3 separate regions of the Homo sapiens genome follow, and all the other regions are linked to region 3. Evidence: promoter capture Hi-C in 16 types of primary human blood cells and fetal thymus (Javierre and others, 2016). All regions are on one chromosome and are shown on one strand. Each heading gives the region's core, a stretch centred on a gene start or on the middle of the fragment in contact. The rest is flanking DNA. Distances are from core to core; before and after follow the strand shown.

The links. The method cuts DNA at HindIII sites, captures the fragments that hold promoters and counts their contacts. A CHiCAGO score of 5 or more calls a contact.
Region 1: a contact is called between a fragment that was not itself captured here and the fragment with the promoter of OLIG3 in region 3, in 1 of 17 cell types (non-activated CD4 T cells). The highest score is 5.9, in non-activated CD4 T cells.
Region 2: a contact is called between a fragment that was not itself captured here and the fragment with the promoter of OLIG3 in region 3, in 1 of 17 cell types (naive B cells). The highest score is 5.1, in naive B cells.

What each region holds. Positions count from the first base shown.
Region 1 is chr6:137,628,329-137,631,922 of GRCh38, forward strand. No RefSeq gene overlaps it. Among named protein-coding and RNA genes, the nearest start is that of LINC03004, 36 kb to the right of the region's middle. The HindIII fragment of the contact is 2,496 bases long and covers 935-3,430 here.
Region 2 is chr6:137,266,510-137,270,411 of GRCh38, forward strand. No RefSeq gene overlaps it. Among named protein-coding and RNA genes, the nearest start is that of IFNGR1, 49 kb to the left of the region's middle. The HindIII fragment of the contact is 220 bases long and covers 1,977-2,196 here.
Region 3 is chr6:137,492,922-137,496,327 of GRCh38, forward strand. It overlaps OLIG3 (oligodendrocyte transcription factor 3), which reads right to left and starts at 1,473. Exons shown (of 1, transcript NM_175747.2): 1 at 1-1,473. The coding sequence starts at 1,249. The coding sequence ends at 431. RefSeq lists enhancers at 383-882, 2,564-3,097, 3,098-3,406. The HindIII fragment of the contact is 6,431 bases long and covers 1-3,406 here.

The DNA of each region.
Region 1 (3,594 bases), core at 933-3,432, 140 kb after region 3:
CCCAGTTATTTTTCCATGAAATGGCACATGTTAAAGTGGAATTCATTTTGGATTAGGCAGACCTAAAGCTTTAGATTTGTTTTTACATTTTTGAAAATTTCAGGATTTTCTCTAATTAAAAAAATTTTACACTAGGTATGGTCCTAGGATTAAGAGTAAAGAAGGTCAGCCAGGCGCGGTGGCTCATGCCTGTAATCCCAGCACTTTGGGAGGCCGAGGCGCGCGGATCATGAGGTCAGGAGATCGAGACCATCCTGGCTAATACGGTGAAACCCCGTCTCTACTAAAAATACAAAAAAAATTAACCGGGCGTGGTGGCGGGCACCTGTAGTCCCAGCTACTTGGGAGGCTGAGGCAGGAGAATGGTGTGAACCCGGGAGGCGGAGCTTGCAGTGAGCCAAGACTGCGCCACTGTACTCCAGCCTGGGCAATAGAGTGAGACTCCGCCTCAAAAAAAAAAAAAAGTAAAGAAGATCTTTAGAAAGTTTCTCTTGTATAAGGAAAATGTAAATAGGCTCATTGTAGAGAGAACCATAGCTTTGGGCTTGTCCATGTCATGGAGTTTAAATGTCTCTATAAATAAATTACACTGTCACTATATATATATAGTAATGTGTACGTGTGTGTGTACACATTATATACACACACATATACATATATGGTCTGTGGCCTGTCAGTATGTGTGTGTATATATATGTATGTGTATGTGTATATATATATGTATGTGTATGTGTATATATATATATATACACACACACATATATACACACACACACACATATATATATATGGTCTGTGGCCTGTCAGTATGTGTGTATATATATATGTATGTGTATGTGTATATATATATATGTATGTGTATGTGTGTATATATATATATACACACACATATATACACACACACAGGCTTTATATGATAAGGCTTTATATACAAAGCTTCATTATTATTATACATATATACAGGTATCATTATACACGTATGTATGATTGTGTGTGTGTGTGTATATATATATATGTATAAAGCCTCATTATCAAGAGATATAGCAAGAACACTGGATATAATAAGACTGAGCTCACTAAAGCAAAAGGAGTCAACTGCTTAACTAGGCAAATTTTGAAAATTTCCTTCCAAATCAGTAAAAAGAGGCCCAAGACTCCATAACCAGAAATTCTGATGTTGTATTGCTTGCAACAATTAGAATAAGACGAGATCTCAAATGTATGCTACAGAGCAAGGGTCCTCAACCCCCGGGACCATGGATCCATACTGGTCTGTGGCCTGTCAGGAACAGGCCTCACAGCAAGAGGTGAGCCGTGGGTGGGTGAGCATTACCGCCTGTGCTCCACGCCTCCAGTCAGATCAGTGGGGCCATTGGATTCTCATAGGAGCATGAACCCTATTGTGAACGGCGGATCTAGGTTGCCGGCTACTTATAAGAATCTAGTGCCTGGCGATCTGAGGTGGGAACAGTTTCACCCCAAAACCATCCCCTCCCCAAACCCACTTCCACGGAAAAATTGTCTTCCACGATACTACTCCCTGGTGCCAAAAAGGTTGGGAGCCACTGCTATAGAGGGTTCTCCAAAAGACAGAAAATATTTGTATCAAAAAAAATGACTTTGCCCATGCAGGAGTAGAAAGTACTTAAAATATTGCCTCATTTTAATTCTGAAATCATTTGTTTGAGGTAGCACTTCTAGGCCTCATCTTTTTTTGCCAGAACAATGTCCAAAACCATCAGCGAGATTGAGCTAATGGGCCAGGTGCGGTACCTTATGCCTAGCACTTTGGGAGGCTGAGGCGGGCAGATCACTTGGGGTCAGGAGTTTGAGACCAGCCTGGCCAACATGGTGAAACCCTGTCTCTACCAAAATTACAAAAGCAAATGTATCCAGGCACGGCAGTGCACACCTGTAGTCCCAGCTACTCGGGAGGCTAGGCAGGAGAATCACTTGAACCCGGGAGGCAGAGGCTGCAGTGAGCTGAGACCGCACCACTGCACACCAGCCTGGGCAACAGAGCAAGGCTACATCTCAAAAAAAAAAATTGAGCTAATGAGTGTGAAAGTACTTTGCAAATTCCAAATTACTTTGTATAAGTTAGTTAGTCCTATTTCTCTTGTGCTTTGAGATTCTGACATCGTATCCTGTGGTTCATAATAACTAGATAGCTCTAGTAATTCAAAGCTACATAAAACGTGGTTATTAAGTGAAATCATTAGAAATGTGTCCAGAAAAAAATTGCATTTTCTGAAGGACAGAAAATACACGTATATCTCTCTTGGAGAGTTTCAAGTAAGGGCTGCCTTAGGGTCCCCTATTAATGAGGCCATCTCTGACCCCTTAGGTGTGGATGTTCAGTTGTTACAATGTTTCTAACACTACTCTATTAAAAAGGCCAAAAACTAACTGCACAACAGATGGGCAAGTGCCCATTATGGGCCTGCCCTGTCAGTGCACTCTGCTGCAGCTGTGGTTGGACTTGCTCCCTTGGCAATTCCTGGGCTCACAGTGGTCAGTGAAATACTTAGGCAGGACGTGGAAGGTCCTAAGGTGCTGTGACAATGCTCCAGCCTCTACTCTTGTGTCTGGATGTGAGAGGATATGGCATAGACAGCTGAAAGCCTCAGAAGACAGGTGGAGTCCAGGAAATTCCATTTGCAGCTATCTTTATCAGGGTGAGCTGCAATTGTTTGCTGTGATAGTGAGCTGAAAGCAACAGTTCTATCAGATTATTTTTTAGAGATGACTAAAGTACACTATAGAAAGGAAGTGCTCAAGATCTGTTTGCTGATGTATTGCTTGCTTCATAAAGCTACCTATTAAGAAAGACACAAAATAACGAAATAATAGCCTAAACAATGTTAAAATAGGAAGATAGAAATAGGACTTTCTCTTTCTCATTTCTAAAGTGTGTATAGAGTTCTCTTATTCTCTCTATAGCATTCAGATACCCACTGGGAAGAAAACAAAAACAAAACCAGAAACCATCATAGATATTTCACAATGAGAAAGTTTGTTACAGGGAATTGGTTTCACCAATAATGGGAAAGCTGAGAAGCCAAATAAGGAGCAGCGAGAAACAACCCAGTGCTTAGCAATACAATAGCAGCAAGCTGCTACCACCTTAGGGCTGGAAGGAAGCTGGAGTTGCAGGGTCTGATGAGCCAGAGCTGTACAGCAGGAGTTACCATAGTCAGTACTTCTGGCAGCAACTGGAGCCAGAAGTTTAATTTCCTTATATGGTAAAGCAGAGGTTGTATTGTGCGATTACCTTGACTAAGAACTATCCTCTGACAGAGTTTCCAGGTTACCTCTCTCTCTTTCTGGATGTTCTTGATAGAGACAGAATCCAGTTATATTTTCTCCACTTTGCTAGATGATGTTATGGCCATCTATCTTTTACAAATAAATGCTAGTTAATTATTTAAGCTTTAGCAGTAAGCCTGTTCTCAGATCTAATTAAACATAAGTGAAAAATAAAAGACACACAGGCATGTACTCTACAGTTTAAAGCATGAAACTTTCCCTTTTTCTGTTAGGGAAAAAGTCAATTCTCCTTGAAGTGTATGGTGGTCTACTGCAAGTTCACTT
Region 2 (3,902 bases), core at 837-3,336, 230 kb before region 3:
GCAAAGTGAAGTCTTCGTTTTTTCTTTTTTCATCTCTTCACAGCAGGTGAATTAACCCAAAATTCGTCATCATAGGAGCAGCAGTTCTTTTTTAACCTCACATACAATTTTACATTTTCCTTAAAAACTCTTTATTTCAAATACACACAAATGGAGAGAGGAGTGTGATAAAACCCCATATTCCTGCTGGCTTAGTCTGTTTTGTGTTGCTATAAAGGCGTACCTGTGGCTGGGTGGTTTGTAAGGAAAGAGGTTGAGTTAGTTCATGTTCTGCAGCCTGTGCAAGAAGCATGGTGCTGGCATCTGCTCTGCTTCTGGTGAGGACTTTTGTGCTCCATCAAAACATGGTGCAGAAGGTCAAATGGCAGGCAGGCAGGTGCAAAGATGGATCAAACCTGGGGGGCCTCTTGGCTTTAGAGCAACACACTCCCTTGGGAACTAATCCATCCCCTCAAAACCAATCCATCTCGGGACAGCATGAGAACTTACTCACTACCCTGAGAACAGCACCAAACCATTCATAACCCATGACCTGAACTCCTCCCACTGCACCCCACATCCCAACATCACCACACTGGGGATCAAATTTCAACATAATATTTGGTGGGGAACATACAAGTCATATTCAATCCATAGCAGCAGCCATCCAGATTTTAAAATAATCAACATTTTGCCCACTTGAATCACCTGTTTGCACCCCTTTTTTGTTGAAGAATTTTAAAGCAAATTCCAGGCAAAATGGCACTTACCACCTAGTATTTCAATGTGTCCCTAAAAGAGGGAAATATAACCAGTTACCACTATCACACCTAAATTCATAACAATAATTAATTAATATCTAATTCCCAGTCCATCCATATTCAAAGTTCATTGACTGTTTAATAAACTTGTTTTTTTTTTTTTTTTTTTGGACGGAGTTTTGCTCTTGTTGCCCAGGCTGGAGTGTAATGGCGTGATCTTGGCTTGCTGCAACCTCTGCCTCCCAGGTTCAAGTGATTCTCCTGTCTCAGCCTCCCGAGTAGCTGAGATTACAGGCGCCTGCCACCACGCCTGGCTAATTTTTGTATTTTTAGTAGAGACAGGGTTTCATCATATTGGTCTGGCTGGTCTCGAACTCCTGACCTCAGGTGATCCGCCCGCCTCAGCCTCCCAAAGTGCTGGGATTACAGATGTGAGCTACTGTGCCTGGCCAATAAATGTCTTTTTAAGATGATTTTTTTTTCCAAATCAAGATCCAAGCGAGACTCACATGTTACATTCAGTTGTCATGCCCCCTTGTACATCTGTAGCAAGCCCCTCTCCCCTCTTCTTTTCCCTTCCCATTGACTTAACTGAAAAAACCTGGTGTAATTGTCCCATAGAACAATGTGCATAGAATATACATTGTTCCACATTCTAGGTTTGCCTGATTACTTCCTCATGGTGACAGCATCATTCAACCAGCTCTTCTTCTTTGTATTTTTAGTAGAGACGCGGTTTCACCATGTTGGCCAGATGGTCTCGATCTCTTGACCTCGTGATCCACCCGCCTCAGCCTCCCAAAGTGATGGGATTACAGGCATGAGCCACCACACCTGGCCGAAATGTATTTCTTAAGTAATAAGATTTGAAAGTTGAAATTACTCCTTGATTCATTGGCTACAGAATGGATGTTGTGTTGAATAACATTCATCTCATTGTACATCTCTGTCAGAGCTCTTGAGTGACTAGATGCACTGTCAGTGAGTGATAATATTTGGAAAGAAATCTTTTTTTTTCTGAGCATTAAGTCTCAATAGCGGACTTAAAATATTCAGCAATTCATGCTATACACAGATGTGCTGTCATCCAGGTTTTGTTGTTCCACTTAAAGAGTGCAGGCAGAGCAGATTTAGCATAATTCTTCCTAGAGTTTTCAAAATGGCAAATGAGCATTCGCTACAATGTTAGGTCACTAGCTGCAATAGCCCCAATCAAAAGAGTCAGCTATTGCTTGAAGCTTTGAAGCCAGGCACTGACTTTTCTTCTCCAGCTATGAAAGTTCTGAAGAGCATCTTCTTCTAATATAAGACTGCTTTTTGTCCACAGACAATATGTTTCTTTTGCCCTCTTCATCAGTGATCTTAGCTGGCTTTTCTGGATAACGCTGCAGCTTCTCCATCAGCACTTGCTGCCTCACCTCGTACTTTTATGTTATGGAGATGGCTTCCTTCCTTAAGCTTCATGAGCCGACCTCTGTTAGCTCCAACTTTTCTTCTGCAGCTTACTCATCTCTCTCAGCCTTCGTAGAATTGAAGAAAGTTAGGGTGTTGCTCTGGATTAGGCTTTTGCTTAAGGGAATGTTGCGCCTGGCTTGATCTTCTATTGAGTCCACTCAAACTTTTTCCATACCAGCAATAGGGCTGTTTTACTTAGCGTTTGTGTGTCCACCCGAGTAGCACTTACTTTCCTTCAAGAACTTTTCCTTTGCATTCACAAGTTGGCTGTTTGCTGCAAAGGTCAAGTTTGGTGCAAAAGAAAAGTTCTTGGAAAGTAAAAGTGCTACTCTGCTACCTTGGTTGTCAACACGCCTTCCATGCTAAATGTAATCATTTCTAGAATTGGATTTAAAGTGAGAGATGTGTGACTTTTATTTTCACTTGAACACATAGAGACCATTGTGGAGTTACTAACTGACCTGATTTCAATATTATTGTATCTCAGGGAATAGGGAGACCTGAGAAGCAGGAGAGAGATGAGGAATGGCTGGTTGGTAGAGCAGTCATGGTAAAACATACATTTATTGATTAAGTTCATCATCTTATATGAACGTGGTTCATGGCACCCCCCAAAAACTACAATAATAGCATCAAAGATCACTGATCACAGATCACCATAATAGATAAAATATGAAAAAGTTTGAAATATTGTGATAATTGCCAAAATGTGACACAGAGACATGAGATGAGCACCTGTTGTGGAAAGTTGGCACCTATAGACTTGCTTAACACACAGCTGCCACAAAACCTCAATTTGTAAAAAACATCCGCATCTGCATAGCATCATAAAGTGAAGTGCAATAAAATAAAATATGCCTTTATTCAATGTTTTTCAACCAGTTGTAGTCATTACTGTTTTCACATCCTCAGATGTCACATTTGACAACGGAAAACCTTCAAGTGGATCTGTGTGTTCTGCTGGTATTTTCCTTGCTTTCTGGCATAAGCATGTCATAGAACCCCAAATTCAGGCTCGTGTACCCAGCATGCAGCTGAGGCCAAACCCTGACACAAAGGTGCTTGGAGATAGAGAAGGGTTTATCTGATTTGCCCAAAATGAGGTGGGAGGGCAAAAATCTCTCCAATCTACCTTAACAAAAAGAAGAGGCGGGGAGTTTTTATTTGGCTGGAGAGTAAAGGATGGGGAGTTACAGGAAATCTAGGGGAAAAAAGTCTGTTTCTTCAGTCTGAGATAACACCTTGAGCAACCAGACTTCTTGGCATCAGCAGCTGGTCACGACATCCCTCTAGGCATTCATTCTTTCTGCAAACTTTTTTTGTGACACTGGAGTTATCTCCTGCTGCTTGGCACAGGAACGGTACATCTATAGTTTATAATTACATTGTGGGAACAAGGAATTTTGGGCAAAAAGCAAGTGGTTAACATTTGCAAGCAAGCAAGGGCCTAATCAGAATTCTCATTATTTCAGATACTAAAAAATGCTGGGGTGCTGAAATCTCCAGTGGCCCAATTGCAAGCTGTCCCAGGCTTAAAATCAGCTTTGCCCTAGACTTAAAATCAGCTATTTCTCTGGGGAGCCCTAATTCTTTTCAATGAGAAGTGAGTTTAGAGACATAATCTAGGTGATATGGGTGCTCATTGCTATTGGGCTGTCAGTGCTTCTAAACATTTCAGTCAACAGAGCTAAGAAATACATGTTTTTT
Region 3 (3,406 bases), core at 223-2,722:
TTTGCACAAAAGGGATGGCCGTCTTTTTCCAAAGCGAGAACACAGAGTCAGAGAAAGCCAACTCAAAAGTCCCTTCGCAAGTTTTTAACTACACCGATCCCATCTTTATACAACAAATGCAGTTTTGACAAGAGCATATGGCAGTGAAAAATACTGGCGCGGCATGGGGAAAAGAAGCATGCATGCAAAACACACGACATCTGGTTCGAGTCCCCCTTTGCTACCACCTAGAAATTGCGGTTTGATTTTGGTCCTTTCCCTCCGGGGGTCAAGTGGAGTCTGAGATCTCTCAGACAGCGTGGGAGGCTGCGGGCCCCGGAGCCTGCCCTCCCGTGGGCCGAGCGTGCAGCCTCCCTCTTCCCTCCCGGCCCGGCACCGCGGCCCCTCCCGCCGCTCTCCCTCCTCCTTGGCAGCCGGGCCCGCCCGCTGCTCACTTGAGCAAGTCCTTGGACTCGGCCGACAGCCGGGCCATGTTGGCTGTGGAGAGAGCGGACAGGTGCGGCGGCGGCGGCATCTGGCAGATGGTGCAGGGGCAGGGCAGACCAGCCCAGTGCTGGAAGCCGCTGCCCAGCTGCAGCGCGGGCGGCGTGGAGGGCGCCTTGAGTAGCGAGTGGGGAGGCCGGATGGTGCCGATGGCGGGAAGTGAGGCGGCGGACAGCGGTGACGAGGCGTTGCCAGATGAGAGCGCGCCGCCCAAGATGGGGTGCACCGGGTGCACGGAGTTGGCCGCGTGCGCGGGGTGGCCGGCCGAGTGGCCCACGGTCCCGCAGTGAAAGGCCGAGTGGTGGCCCCCATAGATCTCGCCAACCAGCCTCTTCATCTCCTCCAGGGAGCTGGTGAGCATGAGGATGTAGTTTCTGGCGAGCAGGAGTGTGGCGATCTTGGAGAGCTTGCGCACCGACGGCCCATGCGCGTAGGGCATGACTTCGCGCAGCCCGTCCATGGCTAGGTTCAGGTCGTGCATCCGCTTGCGTTCGCGTCCGTTGATCTTCAGCCTCAACTGCTGTAGGTCCTGCTCCGACAGCTGCTTCTTGATTTTGTACTTGCTGCTCTCTCCCGCGGCCTTGGCGCCAGCCCGCGAGAGGCTTTCCCCGGGCATCTTCTGCATCATATCGCCCTGCGTGGACGAGACCGAGTTGAGACGGCTCTCCTGGTGGTGGTGGTGGCGGTGGTGGTGGTCCCTCAGGTACATCTCATCCATGTCCGGAGATGAAGCTCTGCTGGAGACAGAGCTCGAATCAGAATTCATTTTATTACAGGGGATGCGGCCCTACCGTGGGGAGGCTTTAGGCGGGAAATTAAAGAAAATCTTGAATTAAAAAAAAAAAATCTGCACTGCCCAGGAACCCACTTCTCCGCGGCAAGACGTGAGAAGAAAAGCGGAGACGCTGCTTTTCCCCGCCTCTCTCCCTCCCACGCCCCTCTCTCTGGTTAGGCTGCTTCCTGGACAGCTAGTTGGTGTGTGCTTGAACTAACCTCACGCTGAAAAAGAGGGGCTTTTATAGAGCTGCGGCGGAGAAAAGAGACAAAAGGAGCCCTCCTATCTATCCTGGGCTGGTTAGGATGACGTGCCATCATTCAGGGCGGTGCGCTTTGCTGTCCCATTTAGCAAGGATTCCTATTCATATTCATTGTGGGGCCGCCCTGGGACACCTCTGCTCCGAACCGCTAGGAGCCCCCAGGCACAAAACCCTCTGATTGACACACTCACCGCTCCAGCTTACGCCTTCCTGATTTTTTTTTTAACTTTCTTCCACCCCACCCCCCTTCCCAATTTCTCTAACCAAATCACACATCAGGAACGGAAGGAAGGCAAGAGAAGGTGGCCAGGCGGTTGGTGGAGGTTCCTCTGAGTTTGGAGAGAGGAATTGAAACATTCGCTCTCCTTTCTTTCCTGGCTGCTCCCAAGTTTAGAGAAATATGGGCAAAAATAGGTCTCAGTGGAAAGGTTTGAGGGACAGAGGTGCGGTCGGAGGGAAGGTGCTGCCAGCGGGGGCTGGGGGTGGTGGGAAGACTGCATGCCGACTTTCTCTGTCTCAATATTTTTTTTTCATTAGATCTCTTTTCCTAAACACTTCCATTCTGTCAATTTTGTTTATTGGGCCCTTCTGGTGTGGTTTCAACGGGATGTCCATGTTCGGTGATGGCTTTGCTCCTGGCAGTATTGTGGCGGAGAGGTCTCTTATTTTCTGTGTCCTCTCTTTCGTTTTAAAACATGGATTTCTAAAAGAATTTCAGTTTTGCACAATTCTTTAACTTCCTAGACCAAAAACTGCGAAAAAAAAATGTTAATGTCACAAGAAAAGCAACTTGGGAGGATGGGAAGGAAAAGGAGCCAAGGAGGCAGAGAGAGAGATTGTTAGGTTCCTGAGAGCTCCAGAGAGATTGTTCCCACTCCAGGCTTCCTGGACCTTGGCGCTGGCGCAAAACGGTGGGACGGTCCGCGCCCGAAGCTCCGCCGGGCCTCCTCTGGCCGCTGTGCTGACGTGCCCCGAGCTCCGGGAACTCAGCGGCACCCCGGCCTGCGCGGGTGGGTCCACCAGGCTGGGGCCGCCGTACGGCGTCGGACAGGGAAATCAGAAGCTCATAATAAACTATCTGATGTCGGGGTGGTGGGGCGGGGGGGTGGGGTGCGTGGGCAAAGAAGCACGGGGGAAGGGAAACAACGAAAGGACCTAGAAAGCCCCTTGTGCGTGCCCGGGCACTGCGGTTCAGCGCAGAGTCGTTTCTGGGAATAAAGAGGAGGTCGGAGTTTGGAGCCTTCGGTGCGAGTGCGGAGGTGGGCGTAGATCTTTCTTCCCCCTTGCTGTGTTTTTGTGATCAAGACTTTAGCTCAGCAGCACGAGGGGCGGGAAGGCAGAAATCCCGGGAAGGGAGAGAGCCCCAGGAGTGGTCTCTAGAAGAACCCGGACACCGCCCCTCTCCCGGCTTGGTGGAACGGGAAACAAACGCTAGCTAGTGACTGAGAGTCTCGGTGGAAGTGTGAAATCGAATCAATCGCGGAACCTCGGGCACTTGGGGCCTCTTGCGCCGCTGAGTCACTTCGAAGAACAGGATGCCCCCCTTTCCCTTGACTCAAACCGAGCGGTCAGTGGGAGAGGGATGCGCGCCCAGGTCCGGAGTTTGCACGCTCTGAGGCTGTGCCCCACTGACAGTCACGCTGCGAAGGCAGCTCTGGCCAATACCAGAAGGATGGGCAAACGCAACATTGGCATGGATGCTTTTGCTACACCGAATTTTGTTTTTCTGTAATGGGGGAAAAATGGCCAACAGCCCTTCGTCAAGGCCAGGAAGTTAGTGCTCTTGCAGATTGGACAGGAGCCTCTTCTACCACCTTCATCTCGGTGGAAGGAAAGTTTCTTAATTCAAGAGGTTAGATTGGATGTGGAAAGACTAATGTCCAAAA